Regions from separate parts of the Homo sapiens genome. Here regions 1 and 3 are each linked to region 2. Evidence: promoter capture Hi-C in 16 types of primary human blood cells and fetal thymus (Javierre and others, 2016). All regions are on one chromosome and are shown on one strand. Each heading gives the region's core, a stretch centred on a gene start or on the middle of the fragment in contact. The rest is flanking DNA. Distances are from core to core; before and after follow the strand shown.

Region 1 (4,183 bases), core at 774-3,273, 170 kb after region 2:
CTCACTTAATGAGCTAGGCAAATCTAGATGCTGGACACACTCCATCCTATATGTGATGAAATTCACTGTACTGAAAAGGAGGGGGCTAAGAGATTTCTGTGGGCAATTTATTATGGGAGGTGGTCTGGGAGAGATATAGAAGGGGCAGGAAGTGTAGTTTGCCTAGGGCAGAGCCTCCAGAAAGAACCCTCAGCCCTAGGCAGAGACAGTAAGGGTTGGGTACTTGCTAGTTAACTTCAAAAAAATGCATTTGTGATGTGTGAGGTCTCTGAAGCATGTGTTTAAGTGGTGCAGGTCTTGGGTGGGGAAAAGGAGCAACTGGTGCATTGAGACCAGTGTTACTTTGCCTTCCTGCTAATGCTTAGTGCAAGGGAAGCACTTCTGAGGCACCATCAGAGTTATTTCTGGTGTCTGAGGGAAGAAAAGAGGAGAAAGAGAAGGAGAGAGAAAAGGGAAAAGGAAGTAAAGGAAGATGGGGTCTATCCCTGAGGCTGTCTAAATCAGGCACTCTCTCTCCAGGGCTCTGCTCTAACAGAGTGAGCGAGGTTTCATACCATTCTTCCACCTGCTGTTTCACTCACAAAGATCTTCTCTTCCTCCATCCAAACTGCATCTCAAAGTTTTCCCAGATGAAGCAATTGAAACCTGATGATCCTGCCCTGCTGGATTTTGGGATCCAATAGCTGCTCCTTTTCTGGCCTTGTCCTATTTTCCACCCTGGTCTTCATACCCTCTCCCATACCCCAACCCTACTCACCTTTGTCCTATACATGATTTGAAGGCCTTTGAGGACTGCCCCTACAGTCAGAATGTTCCTTGTAATTGCTCATCTTTTTATTTACCCAACTGTTTCCTGAATACCTACTGTGTGTCAGGCATCAGAAATACAGAGGCAGGTGAGGCACACTCTTGAGCAGCAGGGAGTTTCATCAGTGCCTTTTAACTTAGCTGGGCACACCAGGAGCGATTCTGAGATGGAAGCATCCAGAGGTGAGGGACTGTGTTTAGAGAATGTTCCCAATTTAAGCACTGCCAAAACATGATTATCTCAATTTTCATGAAAGCTAAAGAAGAACTTTTCACTCTGTGGAAGGCTTTTCCACAATGTCCCTTGATAATTCCAAGAACAGCTCCCCTTTTGCATTTAAGAGACAGCAGGTGTGTGAAGGTTTTGCTTCCCACCCTCTGCTCAGCCTATTGTGTAAGGTGAGGTCCACCCACAGAGTTCCCTGTAGTATTTATGAAAGGGTGTTCACAAATGCCTTAGGGGAGAATGATGGAAACAAGAAGTCAAGGTCTCGTCCACAAAACAAAATGAGTTGGGCTTTATTTTATTCCTGTTTTTTTCTCCTGAAACACAAAGTCTTTTCTAATGGCACATAGACTGTTTCATTCAACAAATACTAATGAGTATTTTCTTTGTGTCAGGAACAACATCAGGCTCTAGGAATGCAGAAGTGATAAAGGCACTGTCATCAAATAACAGTTTAATAGGTGAGATAGGATATGTATCTTGGTCACACGACCCAAAGCAATAGTAAAGGCTGTGACATGTATCTATAAAGGTCAGAGGATGAAGGACTCATGTGTGGCTAGAGCAATGGGCCAATCTCCACAGAGGTGATGACACGGAATGGGATGCTGACAGTCATGGATGATGGGTGGGGAGTAGACAAGGAAGGTCTTCCTCAGACCCTGGGTGATGTCGAACCTGATTTTTCCCTCCAATCCTACATAGAATTCAACAGCAGCTGCAACCCGCCCAGCCTCCCAAGGACATCATCCAGATTAGCCAGTGTACCCACTTCTGCGTAGGCCAATCTGAAGGCCCCAGCCTTCTGCTCACTCACGCACCTGCAGATGCCTTTGAACCACATCCCAGCTACATGTAGCTGAGGAATCTAGCACTGGGAATTGTGAAATACCCAGATCAATCATCCACTCCATGGCTCTCCTCCAATGACATGTGGCCTGGAGGCTTCAACTGGAGGATATATAAAAGAGCCTCTTACTTCCTGGCAACACAAGGCCTCCAGACTCCTCCTGGGATAACTTGTCCACACATCTTCCACTAGGGTAAGGCTACTTCTGGCTGAGGAGACACTTGGATGTAGCTCAAGTGCTGCTTAGGCAGTCCTGATCTCTCCTCTCGTCTCTTCCCAGGGAGCTGAAAAGCCAGGTAGGAGATGCTTGGGGTAGAAAGAAGGGAAGAGAAGTGGATCCCTGCAAAAGAAAGACCCCAAATAATCTAACATGGGAGAAAGCCATAGAAGTTAGAGGGCCAGAAAAGCAGAGATGGGACAGTCAGACTTAGGAGTCTGGGGACAGAATAAGACAGAGTAAAGAAAGAGCAGAGACTTGGCTCTCCTTTGCACTTAACCAGGTGGACATTGGGCTGGGAAAAGTAAACTGTCAGCTCAACTAAGTACAATTTGTCTTTTTTTTTTTTTAAGGAAGCATATATCATTAACATGGTTATTAGTAAGTGAGTCCCCTGGGAAGATTTACTCCCAAATATTTAGTCCTTTCAAGTCCGTTTTTCTCCTCCTGAGATGGAGTTCAGTGGGTTGTAAATGCTGGACTTCATTTTTGACAGCTCCAGTTTGTGGAGGAGAGAAACAGAAGCCCAAGCTGCCTGGGTCCCTGATATAACTATTTTTCTTCCAGATTCGACCTGGTAGCCAAGCAATGTCACAGCAGAAGCAGCAATCTTGGAAGCCTCCAAATGTTCCCAAATGCTCCCCTCCCCAAAGATCAAACCCCTGCCTAGCTCCCTACTCGACTCCTTGTGGTGCTCCCCATTCAGAAGGTTGTCATTCCAGTTCCCAAAGGCCTGAGGTTCAGAAGCCTAGGAGGGCTCGTCAAAAGCTGCGCTGCCTAAGTAGGGGCACAACCTACCACTGCAAAGAGGAAGAGTGTGAAGGCGACTGAGCCCAGAAGAGTTGAGGCACAGGTGCAGTTACTCTCTCCCTGCCCCACCTTTGGGTACTAATTCCCCCTTGGAAAGCCAGGCCCTCAACCTCTCATTTGGACTGAGAAACACTTCCTGATCCCCAGCTCTAGAGAAGCGAGAACTAGGCTGAGCCACGCTGCTACTGCTCTCTTCCATTCACCCCTTCAGCTCAGCAACAATAAAGCTGCTTTACTTGGAGCCCTGACTTCTGTGAGTTCTTGAGACCCCTGCTCAGATGTACTGAGACCCCCGCTTCAACCCAAGTGCATGGTGCTTCTCCTCCTTCCTCTTAAGACAGCTGATAGTATTTTTAAGAAGCAGATGTTCTGGGATTTATGTCCCAGTTTCCAGCAGCCTCACAGCCATCAACCCATGTCATTGCATGATTCTAGCACCAAAGACTACAATAAACATATGTTGAGCACCTACTGTGTACTGGCCTCTGTGTTTACAGATGTAAGTGGGAAATTTGTCCCTGCTCTAGAAAGCTTATAATCCAGTAGGAGATGCAATGGACACTTCAGATAGAAACAAGTGGATTAGTAAATATCATTTTAAGCTGATTAATTTACTCATTTTTATCTCTCATTTGTGTTCAAAAGAACTTAAAGCAGAAATTTAAAAAGTACCTTAGGTCAAAGACAGCAGAGAGAGGAGAACCATTCTGATGGTGTGGATCAAATGTGGTTTCCTAGGCCTTGGAAGGAAAGAGAGTATCCCACTTGGGAGTGGGGAGAAGAGGCTCCCAGACCTCTAAAGATAGCAGACTTTGGTGCTAGGAGGTGCAGTGAAGAGGAAAGTTCATCCAGGTGGAAGATCCAGCATAAACAAATGCATAACAAGGGTGGTACTTGCCAATGGTGTGTATTTCAATTTGGCTGGAGTGCCAGGTGTGAGATGAGAGATATGACACAGTTCATAACCCCAAGTCTTCATGATAATTCAAACCAGCTGAGTTTACTGAGCTTTAGGTATCAAACACCAGCTACCAAAAGATCATACCTCTGGGAAAAGTCTGGGCCCAAACCCCAAGTCTAGTAGTCTGAGATGAGGGAAGCATGACATAAATTACACAGACTTGAAGGGGACTTGAAGCTCAACTATGATGCATATAAATATAAGTTTATGTAAATAATTTTGTTGATCTGCATTTTTGGCAAGACATTAAAAGCATTACTTTTTTTAACCAAATATCCAACTCAATAGATTGTATTGACCAGGCTCAGAACA
Region 2 (4,574 bases), core at 1,273-3,772:
TGTGGAGACAGAAGCAAGAATACTTGCAGGCAGGTGTTTCTTCACTGACTTGTGAACTAATTATCAACATTTTCTGAGATATAAAGGGACAAAGGGGACATGTTAAACAGCTGCTTATCTCCCAGTTCTGGTTTCCCAGGGGATCGGGTCCCATTAATTCTTCCATCGCTTATTCAACCACTCAATACAGACGCTCATGTATGTGCATGTTCATTTTACCTGAATTTTTGTATAAATACAACATACACACATACAGAGCACACACCCACATACACACACACACAGACACAGACTTGCCTCCCCTACTTCCTCACTTACCACATTGTTACAAATATCTTTGTCAAAGAGTATGAGGAAGCTGAGGGTGATATCACCATGAAGACAGTGGAATGAACTAACATGTTCTAATCACACTGGGAAATAGTGACTCAGGAGGTTCAGGCCCCAAACGTCATCTTCTTTGGACCTATGTTTGTCTGCAGTCATCTTCAAAAAGGCTACAAAAATTCTACAGTCCTTGAGGTCATGGGCTACTTATTATTCACCTCTATATCCCTATATTTGGACATACATGATTCAAGAACGTTGTAGGCTTTCAAAGAATGCCTTTTGAATTCACTGCTCTGACCACACTGTTGACTTACTTTATCCTTCAGGTAAAAGCTTCCTGAGAGCAGGAATCAGATCTGATAATAGGATTGCATAACTAGGAGAACAGAATCCCTCAGTTAGAAGCTGACAATGGGAAACTATGCTTTCTCCGCATCCTCCCCTCCCCCACTAAGTAGGCATTAGGCAATGTGAAGGCACAGTCTGTTTCTGTTTTAATCAGAGGTGTGAATATCTATTTTTTTCAATTCTAATTTTTAACACCTTTATTGAGATGTAATTAACATATTTGTAGTTCATTTGTTTAAAGTGTAAATTCAATGGTTTTCAGTATATTCACAGAGTTGGACAATCACCACCATAATTTTAGAACATTTTCATTACTTCACAAAGAAAACCTGTATCCATTGGCAGTAACTTCTCAATATCTCCCAGCCCGCTAAAGCACCTGGAAGCCACTGATATTTCTCAGAGGACAGGCATAAACATAAAAGGAGATACAGGGAACAGAATCTCATCCAGGCTCTTGTTCCTCGGATGCCCTGAGTCAGCTCTTCAGGGGTCCAGCCTGGGAGAGGCTGTAACTGGCTAAAGCCTCATCCCCTTTCTATTTCCAGAGATTTGCCTACTCTACACATTTCATATAAATAACATCATACAATATGCAGTCTTTTGTGACTGGCTTCTTTCACGTAGTGTAATGTTTTCAAGGTTCACACTCAATGTATCTGTTTAAACTAAATGAATAAATGACTGGGTAACTCTGTCTAGTGCAACCCTGAATCAGAACTCTGAATAACTAGATTCCTGGCTGACCCTCTACTTCCTGGTAGGAAAGGAGTTCCCTCTGCATAGGAGCCCCAAGAAATGATGTCTACTTCCCAAGACAGGTTTCAAATAATCTAAGTGTCTGGTGGAGTTAAGCTCTCTGAGGGTAAGGGCTCTATATGGGCAATTAATGACACATAAGACCGGGGCAAGTATCCAATACATGGCATTAGTTTTTCTATTAAACATATATTTATTAAGGGTCTATCAGGCACAAAATGTCATACTTAGCTCTTTCTTGCTTCTCACTTTATATTACAAACAGCTCAGTGAGATAGGTATATCTCACTGATAGGTTTATAATGGGCATTATATGTGAGAACTGATACTCACAGTGAGTATCATAGTAATACTCTAGCAATTATTGATAATTGTTACAGCAACTTTCAGAGATTACCCAGTTATCATATGCAAGTTTTCTGATTCCAGTAGCACATTCAATACAAGTCCTCTGACTGAAGGAAATGTTTAGATTTTAGAGGGAATTGTTTATTCTCAATCATTCTCCTTGCTTTAGGTGACAGAATCAACTCAGATTTAATCCACCGAATCTGCTTGCCATGGTGAGTCGGAGGAAAAGCAGAAACACAGAGGCCAGGAGGAAGGGCTGAGAGCCTAGGCAAGGGAGGGATGCCTAGAAAAAGCCAAGGCTGTAGAAGCCCTCTGGGATGGCTGGATCCACAGCAGGACATGGAAGAGAAACTGCTCAGGGTGGAGGGAGTCATAATGGAACATTTCCACAAGGTCAGGGAAAGCTGTGGCTCAGAACTGATGTTTCCTCAGAGGACATGCATTAAAAAAATGCAGGGAACAGAATCTTGTCCAGGTGTGGGTCCCTTGGGTACCCTAAGTTAACTCTTTAGGGTTCCCACCTGGTGGAGGCTCTGACTGGCTACAGCCTCTCTAGACTGCAGCCCCAGAGAGGAGTCCTGGAAGCTCCTGAGGCCTCTTTGGATTGCAGGGACTAAGAGGCAGGAGAATGTCAGGAATGACCCAGCGTGTGCCTGGTTGTGCAAGAGCCACCTCCTGCTCTTTCCAGAGCCAAGCCTGGGCCCTATAAAAGACACATCCAGCTTCAGCATCTCATCTGCTCTGACTCCCCAGGGACGTGTCTGTGCTCCTGCGTGTGACCAGGGTGAGTGGCAACCTGGGATACCAGAGGGGTATGAGCAAGGCAGAGGGATGGGGAGGATGGAGGTAGGCTGGAGAAAGAGTTGTGTGCTTGTGTTCTGCCATACTGAGCAGGAATGGGACTCAGCCTGCCTCGAATCTGTTGAGGCTCTGAGGCCTACCGGAGCTCATATAGGTGGGGAAAGCTAACTGTGCACATCTTTTCCAATTCTGTGTTCAGTGACTTCATGTTGGTAACTTCAAAACTGCTGTGTTGGGCATATTTACACCATGGAAACTGGCAAATACTTCAAGCCAGGCTCTTTTATCTGGAGGTTTCATTGCAAAATATTTTCCAGAGGACCCCTTGGTATGTCCTGCAACACCCAGCTTGTCCTTAGGGCTTGTATTAAAGGAATAGGTACTTCAGGGAGCTGTGAATACTCTATTCGGGCTTGTGAGGATAGAGCAATCGCAGTTTCCCCTGAAAGGAAGAGTAAGAAGCTCATTCTGTTGATTTTTTATCTACGTACTTTTATCTAGAGGAAAGATTCAAGTTGTTTCTTTCAGGTTACTGATGTGATTGTATTATCTAAATATCATTCTTCTTCTACACATGCATTGATTTTAGAAGAGGTATAATATGATCCTTGGTTTGAAATATTTAAAGAGTTTCATTATTATCTTTCAGGTTGACTAAACTCCTGCCAGCATGTCTTGCCAGCAAAACCAGCAGCAGTGCCAGCCCCCTCCCAAGTGTCCTCCCAAGTGTACCCCAAAATGTCCACCTAAGTGTCCCCCCAAATGCCCACCACAGTGCCCAGCTCCATGTTTCCCTGCAGTCTCTTCTTGCTGTGGTCCCAGCTCTGGGAGCTGCTGTGGTCCCAGCTCTGGGGGCTGCTGCAGCTCTGGGGCTGGTGGCTGCTCCCTGAGCCACCACAGGCCCCGTCTCTTCCACCGGCGCCGGCACCAGAGCCCCGACTGCTGTGAGAGTGAACCTTCTGGGGGCTCTGGCTGCTGCCACAGCTCTGGGGGCTGCTGCTGACCTGGGCTACAGAAGAGCTCTTGGGACTGAATGGCCAAGAACCTGCTACGGCCTGATGGATACTCTTTCCACTTCCTCTCATTCCATTCATTGGTTGGCAGAGACCACAAAGACTCATGGGGCTTTCCTGGAAGAACTTCGTGCTTGATGTAACACCCCAATTGCAAGTCTTCTTTTCCTCCTTTACCTCATGTTATAATAAAGCTCTGATCTCTGACTCACTAAATGTCTTGGTCATTCTCTTCTCTTCTGAGATTTCAAATGTCCTCCAAAGGTCAGGGCCTCAGAGTAATTTTCTTCATGAGGCTAGGACAGGACATGAGTAGGTGATACATGAAAAGCTGCTCTGAGGAACTGATTCCCCCAGATGCTGAGTGAATGGAGCTCCAAGAGGGTCACCTCTGGCTATGGTAGCTTTGCCTTTCTCTCCACTAAGCCAGACACATGTTCTAATTTTCTGTGTAATCCAGACGTTGGGAAGGTTGGGAAGCTCTGCAGACTTGTTCTTCTCTAGGGAGAAGAACACATCCCTATGAAGCAAAACTTTCCTGCCCTTAGAATCAATAGTTGGATAAAATGCTTGAAACAGATGTTGAGACCCTTCCTCCTGTAAAGTACAGCCCATGGTCACTCAGCTTCTTTTCATGAGTCTGGTTAAGATCAGCCTTTTGACTTGCTGCCTTGGACACCTGGCTTCAGTTCCTCACAGTGTTAGATCTGAGTCCCAGGATGCTGTCCTGCCACTTGGCTCACGTGCTGGGCAGGGGAGTGATGAGTGATGGAGATATTAAGTGAAAAAACATGGAAGTGTTGCTTAGAAGATACAAAGAATATAAGGAACATAAGAATACAAAGAATACAAAACGCTGTATGAAAGAATAGACCTTTCCTCCTTCAATACTTATCTTTTTTGCCAAGCCACCCTCAGAATGTGAGGGGGGAGAAGCGCCAGGATGGGTGGGGCATCTTAAGTATTACTAGA
Region 3 (4,101 bases), core at 1,028-3,527, 160 kb before region 2:
ATGGCCCCATGAGATAAACACTACTTTTTTGACCATTTCACAGGCGAGGACAGTGAGGTGGAAAGCTCATATCACTTGTTCAAAGTCACACCACTGGTAAGTGGGGAGTTGGGATTCAAACCCAGAGACTGGATTTAGAACTCACGCTCCCAGCCGGGCACGGTGGCTCACACTTGTAATCCCAGCACTTTGGGAGGCCGAGGTGGGTGGATCACGAGGTCAGGAGATCAAGACCATCCTGGCTAACACAGTGAAACCCCGTCTCTACTAAAAATACAAAAAGTTAGCCGGGCGTGCGTGGTGGCAGGTGCCTGTAGTCCCAGCTACTTGGGAGGCTGAGGCAGAAGAATGGCGTGTATCCAGGTGGCAGAGCTTGCAGTGAGCAGAGATCGATCGCACCACTGCACTCGAGCCTGGGTGACAGAGCAAGACTCAGTCTCAAAAAAAAAAAAAAAGAACTCACGCTCCCAACCACTTATAAATAGATTCTGTGCCCTTCATGAAATGTTCTTATGGCTACCAAAAATAATGCTTCCAAACAACGAATAACATGGGAAATGTTGATGTTAAAATGTTAAGTGAAAAGTTAGTAAAGTAAACTCATGTAAGTACTATGAGAAAGACTATGTAAAATACAAACAAAACTCAAATAACAACAACAACAACAAAACCACTATATATAGAAAAAAATGACGGGAAGGAAAATAGCAAAATAGTAACCATATTTTAGGGATGGGATTATAGGTGATTTTAAAATTCTTCCTATTTTTTGGTGTTTTTAAATAATGAGTATGCTTTCTTTATAATCTCATTCCCTAGTGACAAGCAAATACTCTTAATATTTTGCTGTAAGAAAACATCGAGTCTAAGTTCTGATATCATAAAAATTAGTTTTGGTTTCAAAATTGGCAGGTCAGTAATTTGAAATTTAGCATATATTTTCTCATGGAAATAAGGATAGCCATAGTGATTAGTTTTTTCTTTTTTAAACTTGCAGTTCTAGGAACTGTGCTAAGAACTTCATCTGTATTTCTTTATTCAGTGGATTAGGAATGTTTTCAGCCCCCTTTTCCAGTGATGGTTAAGTAACTTGCCAGAGGTTGCACAGGTGGAGAGAGCAAGGGTGGGAACTGATGCTGGATGTCCCTCTCCAGGGTCTGTGTTATAACTGGGCTGATGCTTCTCACTGCAGCCCATTTCAAAGAGCATGGAGCTAAGGTACTGCCTTTTTCTCCCAGTCTTATTTTCTCTCACTGCAGCTTTCATTGTGAATATGCCATATTTTGGCCACCCTTTCCAGCTAAGTCAATTTTGATAACTATCCTGGGGACCCAACTTTCCCTCAGAATATTGTTTGCTGAGAAAATGTTTTGGATCCCACCATGGGCTTTTAAAACCTATATACTCCTCCTCTTCACCTCTCCATCCAAAGATTAATCTTCTCCTGAGGTCCTTCCCAGGTTGGATGCTCTTCTCTTATGAATGACCAGAACTGGTGCCTCACTTCTGGAAACCTCCAGATGAGTGGAGAGCTTTTGCTCCACCCTCAGTATACACCTGGTCTTTGCTGCCTCACCTCGAGCTGGCCAAGGGCACCTTCTTTAACACGAGTAAATAAGCCATTCCTAGACTTCTGCCCTTTTAAAGGCATTGTTAGTGCTGAATCGGTACTGTTTGTGAGCAGTTTTGGAGCATCAAATTCAGGCAAGGAGAGAAGCCCAACCACCCACACTGTCAGCATTAGATCTGCCTAAAATAACATCACTGAGATATCAAACCTTCCTTGTTCTGGTTATGGCATCATCTAGAAATGAAAAAAAAATCATGTTAGATTATTTGCTTGGGCCTACAATTTTATTTTGGATCTCTATTATTATTCTAAAAAGGGCCATTTAATTTCCATCTTGGGAATTTTCTCCTTCAGTTCCTATACCAAAGAGAAAACAGAACTTCTGTTCATTCCAGAGGTGTAGAGCCGTATTGGCCCAGCTCAGAAAATAGAAGGCATAGCAGAGCTGCCTGTGAGATAGATAGGTGCCATGTGCAATTCACAGAGCTCCCTCACCATCCTAGAGGCCTGCAGTTCTCAGGGGATCTTCCTGTGGGTTAATACTTGAGATGCTTATGCAGGGAGGAACTGGGTCCCTGGGATGCGAGGGGAGGGAGTCACCCATGCCTTTATGAAAGATGCTTCTAGCGTCCCGCACATGGTCTGCACCTCCTGATGCTAGGTCAGGACTGAATTGTATAAAAGGCAGAAGCTTCTGACAGCACCTCAGTCTACCTGTCTCCTGAGTGATCTGCTGCAGTGCCTGAACCAGGTAGAGTGCTTCTCAGGACCAGGATGAACTCTTGGTGCTGGTGTTTTGGGCAGAAAGAGCCCCTGGGTGGAGGTTGAGGCCATTCTTGAAGAAAGACAAGGATAAAGAAGGATTTTGGAGGGGAAGGTTCTTCTGGAAGGGGAGGGTGGAAGGTAGGTAAAAGGAATGAAGGACTGATGCCTTTCTGAAGTTCCAAGTTATTCATTTGAAAATATGGAGTTACTAGGTGGAAATCATTTGTATCATTCTTGTTACTGGTCTTGGGAGACTGGGTTTTTAAAATCTGGTTCATCTTAGGCCAGGAGTAGTGGCTCATGCCTGTAATCCCAGCACTTTGGGAGGCTGAGGTGGGCGGGTCAAGAGGTCAGGAGTTCGAGACTGACCAACATGCTGAAATCCCGTCTCTACTAAAAACACAAAAATTAGCTGGGTGTGGTGGTGCACACCTGTCTGAGGCAGGAGAATCACTTGAATCCGGGAGGTGGAGGTTGCAGTGAGCCGAGATAGCACCACTGCACTCCAGCCTGAGTGACAGAGTGAGACTCCATCCCAAATAATAATAATAATCATAATAATAAATTCTGGTCATCTTAGAGATAAAATCTTGTGAAATTATAGTTCAATTTTAAGGGCAAGGAAGTGACCTTGGGCTTGTATTGTCTTTCAGCTTTATTCAGCTTCTACAGAGATGTCCTGCCAGCAGAGCCAGCAGCAGTGCCAGCCTCCTCCCAAATGTACCCCTAAATGCCCTCCCAAGTGTACTCCTAAGTGTCCTCCCAAGTGTCCCCCAAAATGCCCTCCCCAGTGTTCAGCCCCATGCCCACCTCCAGTCTCTTCCTGCTGTGGTTCCAGCTCTGGGGGCTGCTGCAGCTCTGAGGGTGGTGGCTGCTGCCTGAGCCACCACAGGCCCCGCCAGTCCCTCCGACGCCGACCTCAGAGTTCCAGCTGCTGTGGCAGTGGCAGTGGCCAGCAGTCTGGGGGCTCCAGCTGCTGCCACAGCTCTGGGGGCTCTGGCTGCTGCCACAGCTCTGGAGGCTGCTGCTGACCTGGGCCATGAGGAGCACGGAGGAGAAGGACTGGCAGATCCCAGGTGCTGAAGATGTGTGTCAGCCTGAGGCTTCTTTTCTCTCATTTCCCATGGAAGGACTTCGGAAATGCCTTAAGTTCCCCTCTTTATCCTGCCCATGTTCACTCCATTGTAGGGTTGAAGTCTAGCTTGTGATATTTTCTGGCCTGGCTTTCCCTCTCAGACATAGCTCTTTGGAGAACTAGGTGTTGTAATTCAGTTATGAAGCTATTTTCTCTGTAACAATAAAGCTTTTTATTCCTGATATCACTGCCTCCTGATTTCATTGTTTGCCTCTCCCACTCCCTACCTGCTGCATCAAGCCATCTTCCCTTCCCTTCTCTTAAATGCAAGCGAACACTTTACAAACTTGTTTAGGAAGCACATTTTGGCAGTGAAGCTACTTAGGCCTCTGGAAAACAATATTTCCTTCTATGCACTGGATTCTGGAACTTTAAGCTTGAAGGAAAGAATAATGTCTGAGACCATTACGCCAGACACAAGATTGTATGAGGAGAGCCAGGAATGGGTTTGAAGAGAAGAGGATGGTTGTACTCAAAAGGTTCAGGTTCTGAGAGGGTTTCCTTCAAGCATGGGTCACAGTTTGAAAAATTGCTTGTCCCCATTCATGGGGAATAAGATTGCCTGAAGTGCTCATCCTGGGCTCTAATAAATGGACACTCTTTACTTTTCTGATTATTATAAGCTCAGGTG

Evidence for each region. The method cuts DNA at HindIII sites, captures the fragments that hold promoters and counts their contacts. A CHiCAGO score of 5 or more calls a contact.
Region 1: a contact is called between the fragment with the promoter of LCE6A here and the fragment with the promoter of LCE2C in region 2, in 9 of 17 cell types (non-activated CD4 T cells, endothelial precursors, activated CD4 T cells and 6 more). The highest score is 10.3, in non-activated CD4 T cells.
Region 3: a contact is called between the fragment with the promoter of LCE5A here and the fragment with the promoter of LCE2C in region 2, in 12 of 17 cell types (total B cells, fetal thymus, total CD4 T cells and 9 more). The highest score is 15.7, in total B cells.

The regions. Positions count from the first base shown.
Region 1 is chr1:152,840,833-152,845,015 of GRCh38, forward strand. It overlaps LCE6A (late cornified envelope 6A), which reads left to right and starts at 2,024. Exons shown (of 2, transcript NM_001128600.2): 1 at 2,024-2,179; 2 at 2,668-3,151. The coding sequence starts at 2,689. The coding sequence ends at 2,931. The HindIII fragment of the contact is 3,660 bases long and covers 1-3,439 here.
Region 2 is chr1:152,672,757-152,677,330 of GRCh38, forward strand. LCE2C (late cornified envelope 2C) reads left to right here and starts at 2,523. Exons shown (of 2, transcript NM_178429.5): 1 at 2,523-2,572; 2 at 3,239-3,813. The coding sequence starts at 3,260. The coding sequence ends at 3,592. The HindIII fragment of the contact is 8,836 bases long and covers 662-4,574 here.
Region 3 is chr1:152,508,526-152,512,626 of GRCh38, forward strand. It overlaps LCE5A (late cornified envelope 5A), which reads left to right and starts at 2,278. Exons shown (of 2, transcript NM_178438.5): 1 at 2,278-2,473; 2 at 2,989-3,652. The coding sequence starts at 3,010. The coding sequence ends at 3,366. The HindIII fragment of the contact is 1,377 bases long and covers 2,260-3,636 here.